Regions from separate parts of the Homo sapiens genome. Here region 2 is linked to region 1. Evidence: promoter capture Hi-C in 16 types of primary human blood cells and fetal thymus (Javierre and others, 2016). All regions are on one chromosome and are shown on one strand. The core of a region is centred on a gene start or on the middle of the fragment in contact, and the rest is flanking DNA. Distances in the headings are between cores, read along the strand shown. Region 1 holds the start of IL12A (interleukin 12A). Region 2 overlaps IQCJ-SCHIP1 (IQCJ-SCHIP1 readthrough).

Region 1 (3,714 bases), core at 4-2,503:
TCACCCATCCATTCATGCTTGGCACCCACCTCCCTCAACCCATTTCCAACACTTTTCCTTCAACACCTGAGAGATGACTCGAGTTATTACAAAGCGCCACTCTATTCTAGGGCTAGAAGCCAGCTCCCTGTGAGGGTCTAGAGATGAGCTTGGACAAGGGTGTTGAACCCAACACTCACCCAGAGAAAGCCTACATGTTTTTGATCAGGGAAACCCAGACCAGGTGGTGAAGTGGCTGAGTCAGACTTGGGACCCAGTGTTTTAAAAACAGTGGAGTGAGAAAGCCTGACTTTTTTTGTTTTTTTAAGACGGAGTCTCACTCTGTGGCCCAGACTGGAGTGCAGTGGCACGATTTTGGCTCACTGCAACCTCCACCTCCGAGTTCAAGCAATTTTCCCTGCCTTAGACTCCCGAGTAGATGGGATTACAGGCACCCACCACCACACTCGGCTAATTTGTGTATTTGTTAGTAGAGACGGGGTTTCACCATGTTGGTCAGGCTGGTCTTGAACTCCTGACCTCAGGAGATCTGTCCGCCTTGGCCTCCCAAAGTGCTGGGATTACAGGCGTGAGCCATTGCACCCGGCCAAGCCTGACTTTAGAACTGGCTAGGATCTGCCTTCTGTTTGTAGCTGAGGGACCCTAGGCAGGAAAGCAGGAAATCTCCCACGCTGGGCCTCAGTTTCTCCTCTACGAAGTGGGCATAATGATAGCTCATCAGGCTGTTTCGAGATGAAAAGAGACATGCCCTATTTAGCACACGGTGAGACCCCTATTCTTATTCCTCTTTGCAGGAGACGGCTGCTGCTGTTCCAGTCTCTCCTTAGGCAGACTTGAGTTTCTACCCACTCTTCCCAAGCAGCCGCCCCTCCGCACCCGAGCGAGCCAAAGACCTGGCGGGCTGAGTACTCACTGCGCGCTGGACACATGCTGAGCCGGCACTGCAGGGACACAGGGCGAGCCGCTGGATGCAGACCTGTGGCCGCGGCAGGTGAGGGCGGTGGCTGGGAGGCTGACCCAGGGGGCCACATTTTTATAATTGTCCCGAGGCGCGGCAGGACTTTCCCGGGACTCTGGTCTCTTGCTTTCTGTCTCCTTCTGTGTCTCTCTCTACATCAGCTTCTCGGTGACACGTGCGGTGCGGCCGGCCCGCGGGGCTTGCGGCGCTTTCGGATTAACTCCCGGGGTGCCCGGCCGCAGCCGTTCCGGGACGGCCCCGCCGCCTCCAGCTCGGCCCAAAATGAAAGCGAAATGTTCGCAGTTACTGCGCGGGGTCCACAGGCGGGCGGGACACCCCGCCCACCACCCTGGGTCCCCGGCCTTAGCCGGACGCCCCGTGTCTAAGCTACCCCGCCCCGCAGCTGTGCAGCGCCCCCTGCCGACGTAGAGAGAGGAGTGCCTCCCACTTTGCATGTCCTGCGTAGGGATGGGCCCTAACCACGACCTCCAGCCTAGTACTGGAAGGGGTAGGCAAATCATTCACTCATCATCGTTCCTTTAGATGGCTCACTAGATGCCAGGCCGACGTTGCACCAGGTGCAGGACACCCAGGGAGAACAGGACCCTTGGGGCATTGCCACACTAAATCAGACTCAAGGCGTTTTGTTCACAGGTCTTTTCTGAAACCTGAAAAGGGATGAGAGCTGGCTGACTCTGCAATTATTACTCTTGTAGAGAATCCAGTTTAACGATAGGATGAATACACAGAGTCCTGGGAGGAAAGACCTAGAGAAAGAGCCCACGCTCAGCCGGAGCAACGGGGTCCAGGAGTCAGCAAAGGCTCCCGGGAGCAGGCAGGGGCCCCAACCTGAGTGTTAAAAACAAGCAGGCATTAGACCGCTTCCAGCGGGAGGGCACGCAGGGTCTAGCCAGGGGAAACAGGGATCAGAAGCGCAGTCATGAAGGGTTGAGGGAGGTGGGGGTCTAGGTGTCCTTGCAGGGTGTGAGGCTGGAGGGCTGGATGGGGCCATGCCATGAGGGCAGGGGATGCCATACTAAGGAGTGTACTTTCTGTGCTGAGAGTAGTGGGGAGTCTTCCTGGGTTTTAGGCGGGAGATGTGGCAGAATTTGCATGATGGGGGGATCCCTTCAGCCACAGCATGAAGGATGGATCCAGGGGTCAGGAGTAGAGCAGAGGGAAGAGTTGACAAGGTGTGGCCAAGTCCTTATTCAGTATGGAGAACACAGGGTGGGCAGGAGGGACTCTCAGAGGGCTTGTGGGCCAAGGCTTGGTAGCTCCTCAGGTGAGCGGGAGAGGAAGGCCCTGAGAATGGGGAATGGAGATTGTTCTAGCTTTACAGGGATTACTGTATAAGAGGACTGAGTTTGGAGGAGATGGTGAGAAGTTCCATTTTGGATGTGCTGGGTTTGAGGTTCCTGTGGGACTTTTTAGTTCAGTTGTTTTTCCCACAGGCATTAGTCACCCTAGGCGTGGGTAGTGGGGAGGATGTGTTTGATCTCTGACTTGGAGCTTCCAAAGGGCCTGACTACACCCAGGCCCTAGGACCTAATAACTGGAGCTGCCTTCTGGGTGGCTCATCTGCTCGAAGCTGATGAAGCACGGCTGTAGGGAGTTTTAGGTGTGTGTAAAATAAGAGAAATGGTTGATCTCTAAGGCCCCTTCTAATGCTGCTGTCTGAGAATTCCCCCACGGGATACAGAGTAATCCATTGTCAGAAACAATTGCGTTTAGCAGTTTGTCTAGAGCAAATGACAGGTGCAGAGCTGTGTTGTGGCCACAAGGGTTTAGTGTGGAGTTAAATGTACTTAAAGTCAGGATGAAGACAAGTGTATCACAACTGAGCTGTTTCTCCCCTGGAAGGGCCATCTCCTATACAAAAGTAATTTCTGTTGCTTAGATGAGCACAGGGCCACTGTTAAAAATGGATTATTGGCTACCAGACACAGTTTCTAATTTACATTTTTGTGAAATAGTTTCCTGAAGTGCTCCATGTCCTCTAGCTAAGATGAAATGAAAACCTTCTTCTAGGAATACATGATTTTTCTATAAGTGACAGTCTTAGCTCACAATCACTACTTCACAGTGTGTAGCATTGTCGTGGAGGTCTCGGCCAATGCTATAAGGAAAGAAAAAGAAATGAGAGCTTTAAACATTGGAAAAGAAAAGGTAAAACTGTCACTTTTTACAGTTGATATACAAAAAGAAAAAAAATTAATAGACTATTAGAACTAAGAAGAGAATTTAACAACATCATGCAATACACATATCAACTTAAAAAAAATCAGCCGATTTTCTTTGTATCTGCAACAATCCATCAGAAAATGTAATAAAAACAAGATGACATGCATAGAAGCAGCCAAACTATAAAGTAACTGACTGTAGATACAGAGGCAGTATAATGGCTAAGAGTATGGACTAAACTATGTTAATCCAGGTTCTGCTACTTACTTGCTGTGTGTTCTTAGGTGAGTTATTTATCTCTCTGGGCTCAGTTTCCTCATCTGTTAAATGATGATAATAAAAGTACCTACAGTATAGAGTTATTATGATTATTACATGAGCTTGGATAACTACAGAATAGTGTTTGGAGAAAAATTTTAAAGTTCAGTCAAGAATATAGTGTGATTTAATTAAATAATTCTATACCCTTGGGTGGAAGGTTTCTCTATATAGAAAGCTTAAGCCTCTTTTCGTTAATTCACATGCTCAATGTAATTCCAATACAAGCTACAAATAAATTTTCTCAGAAACTT
Region 2 (3,468 bases), core at 890-3,389, 110 kb after region 1:
AAGGGACCTCAAGAAACACTTAGTAGAATCTCCCTGTCTTATATATGGAAAATACTTTTGCTACCTGGACATTAATAAGGTGTTAACCAGAAGAGTGAAAGAGCAGAAAACTGCAAAAGGAAGGAGGTCTTGGTGAACTGAGGTTGGGCGGAATAAATACAGGAGAGAGATAGAAAAGCTGACCCTCCAGTAGTTATGTGCCCAGAGAAGTTATGGGTAGTTTCCAACTATATGCCAAAGAGAGGACTGGGGAGGACATTATGTCTCTTTATATCCTGTCCTGATCCCCACCTTACAGGACTCAGGTGTTCGGCTTCCTCAGCAGAAGCTGATGAAGGCAGCTCCAAAGGTAGTTGGAGTGTGAATGACCCTCTCTGGGTTTTCTCCTCCTAATCTTATGCATACTTTCTTTTTTCTGCTTGCTCTTCTAAGACTAGTTCTGGACCCTTCCATCTGTACATGTTCACATGATGGCTGGTAAGCACACCGGCCATTCTGTGGCACCACATAGCCACAGAATCTCCTCACTGACTTAGGCAACTAATAGAAAAGGGAAACTATCACTCACCAGCTTTTCTTTGGAGAAACATCGCCCCTGTATCCTAACCCGAATCTCCAGAGAGCTATAAATACTTGCATTCCTCAGACGGCTGTTGGTTCTAATTCTACATCAGTGTCCATTTCCTTCACTAATGACCACTTTCATGTAATTAAATTTGGAATTATAGGATCTTAATGTTGGGAAAATGCATTTTCAACTGAAATGTTCTCTAGCATGAATGAAAGACCAGAACGAGGCCTCTTCTGATACGAGGAATAAAACAGCCATCTCTCGTAGGCAGCAAATGTTATCTACTTCCATGTTAAATAAGGCCAAGTAATTTCCAAGTAATCTGTATTCTGAAATTAAAAGTTACTGTTTTTGAGCATCTACTAAGTGCCAGGCATTTTACTATTTTATGTCTAACCCTCAGATACACATGAAGCAGGCACTGTGAACCCTGTTTCACATATGAGAAAACGGCTCAGAGAGGTTAAATTACACAATATCACAACACTGATACTTTAGGAAAGTCCGTCTTGAGATGTCAGAGCACTTTAAAAAGGAGGAAACAAATTCATTAATGGTAGAAAAAAAGAGAAGAAAGAAAAAAAAAAGAAAGAAAGCAAAACAAAAACAAAACCAAAACAAAAAGCTGGCAACAACTTAAATGCCTAATAATAAAAGATTGATAAAGTATATTATGGTGAAATATATGATGGGCTATTCTGCAGCTAGTAGAAATACTAATCTTATGAATAAGATTAGTCCAATATTATTACATTAGATGAATCTTATGAGTAAGCTTAGTCCAATATTATTAGATTGGATGAAAGTTTCCGACTGTTAAGTAAAAGAAAGAAGGCTAAAAACAGTACCTATGCTATAATTCCAATTTTATAAACAAAAATATGGAGATATATGCATAGAAAAAAAGTCAGGAAATACATCTTTTTTTTTTTTGGTGAAAGAGTTTCAGTTGGCTTTGGATTTTCCTCTTTTGAGCACCTCTGAGGTGCTACATATGGGCATTTGGCAGGAATTTATTTATTTTTATTTATTTTTTATTTTTTATTTTTTTATTTTTTTATTTTATTTTATTTTTTTTTTGAGACGGAGTCTCGCTCTGTCGCCCAGGCTGGAGTGCAGTGGCGGGATCTCGGCTCACTGCAAGCTCCGCCTCCCGGGTTCATGCCATTCTCCTGCCTCAGCCTCCCAAGTAGCTGGGACTACAGGCGCCCGCCACTACGCCCGGCTAATTTTTTGTATTTTTAGTAGAGACGGGGTTTCACCGTTTTAGCCGGGATGGTCTCGATCTCCTGACCTCGTGATTCGCCCGCCTCGGCCTCCCAAAGTGCTGGGATTACAGGCGTGAGCCACCGCGCCCGGCCTATTTTTATTTTTTTGAGACAGAGTCTCACTCTGTTGCCCAGGCTGGAGTGCAGGGGTGCAATCTTGGCTCACTGCAACCTCCGCCTCCTGGGTTCAAGCGATACTCCTGCCTCAGCCTCCCGAGTAGCTTGGACTACAAGCACCCGCCACCATACCCAGCCAGCTATCTTTTGCATTTTTAGTAGAGACAGGGTTTCACCATGTTGGCCAGGCTGGTCCCGAACTACTGACCTCATGTGATCCACCTGCCTTGGCCTCCCAAAGTGCTGGGATTACAGGCATGAGTCACTGCGCCCGGCCTTGGCAAGAATTTAAAAAAGAAAAGGAAAGAACATGACCGAGTTGATGATTAGCATTTGTGTGTTGGAGAAAAGGTGAGCAGATCAGTGTTTGATGGCTGGAAGAGGATGGCTGTGTGTCTGACTCAGCCATGTCTATGCAGGGACTTTTGTTTTTGGCAGGGTGCTGGAGGTGGTGGGAGATCCGTGGGCAGCAAGAAACATATTTTCTTATAAGAGAACATTTCTGTGGATGGACTCTGATTCAACTGTTGACATCCCTCCTCAATCCAGTCTTGATTTCATTCTCCTCCTTGGATCTGCAGTAAATTACAGACTCTAACGTAATTGATATAAATTTAACTGTTTGTATTTTTAAAGCCAGGCTGCCTATTTATTCTGCTCAGCTCAGACAGAGTTTAAACACCTATCTACCCCACCTGCTGATGAGTTTCAGCTGTTGAGGCAATGAAGGTTAGAGAAGAAATACTTTTCCCCTTCCAGACCTTTGAAAATGTTCATGCGGACTGGGTAAAAAACATGACAGCGGAGAGTCAGTGCCTGTGTGTGTTTCTGAGGCATATTCCTGAAGTAGGCGAAAATCTTAATTGCAAATTCTTTTATTCTTTTGACCATTAAAGCACTGCTTTACCACTTTTTATGTTCATGTTTAGAAACATTTTGGGGCCACCATTTAGGCTTGGTTCCATGGTAAGCTTCATCTCAAAAACACTGGCTTTCATGATTTAGTTTGTGACTGTTTGAATTCTACGCAGTCGTGAAAAAGAATGCAGTGGATCAATAAGATTGCATTGATTCTATGAAGCATGGTTATTTACATTTTGCAGTCTTTATTTTTTATTCTTTGAAACAGAGTTTCGCTCTTGTCACCCAGGCTGGAGTGCAATGGGGTGATCTCGGCTCACTGCAACCTCTGCCTCCAGGGTTAAAGCGATTCTCCTGCCTCAGCCTCCTGAGTAGCTGGGATTATAGGCGCCCGCCACCACTCCTGGCTAATTTTTGTATTTTTAGTAGAGATGGGGGTTTCATCATGTTGGCTGTGCTGATCTTGAACTCCTGACCTCAGGTGATCCACCTGCCTTGGCCTCCTAAAGTGCTGGGATTACAGGCGTGAGCCACTGCTCCCAGCCTAAAATAGGGATGTATCTCAGCTGCTGTACCTCAGGTAGGTGGTGGCATGATTGCAGTACTTAACTCTATCAGCCCACAAACCAGGTAATAATCCCCAAGGAGGAG

The links. Contacts are between HindIII fragments. The CHiCAGO score rates a contact against its expected background, and 5 or more counts as called.
Region 2: a contact is called between a fragment that was not itself captured here and the fragment with the promoter of IL12A in region 1, in 5 of 17 cell types (monocytes, M1 macrophages, M0 macrophages and 2 more). The highest score is 8.6, in monocytes.

Annotation. Positions count from the first base shown.
Region 1 is chr3:159,986,374-159,990,087 of GRCh38, reverse strand. It overlaps IL12A (interleukin 12A), which reads right to left and starts at 1,253. Exons shown (of 7, transcript NM_001397992.1): 1 at 914-1,253. The coding sequence starts at 929. IL12A-AS1 (IL12A antisense RNA 1) reads left to right here. Exons shown (of 10, transcript NR_108088.1): 9 at 795-991. RefSeq lists enhancers at 993-1,042, 542-1,042, 1,043-1,543, 2,395-3,594 and silencers at 1,163-1,212, 1,283-1,482. The HindIII fragment of the contact is 5,775 bases long and covers 1-3,640 here.
Region 2 is chr3:159,876,961-159,880,428 of GRCh38, reverse strand. All of the region lies in intron 5 of IQCJ-SCHIP1 (IQCJ-SCHIP1 readthrough), which reads right to left. All of the region lies in intron 3 of SCHIP1 (schwannomin interacting protein 1), which reads right to left. Among named protein-coding and RNA genes, the nearest start is that of IQCJ-SCHIP1-AS1, 110 kb to the right of the region's middle. The HindIII fragment of the contact is 1,581 bases long and covers 1,349-2,929 here.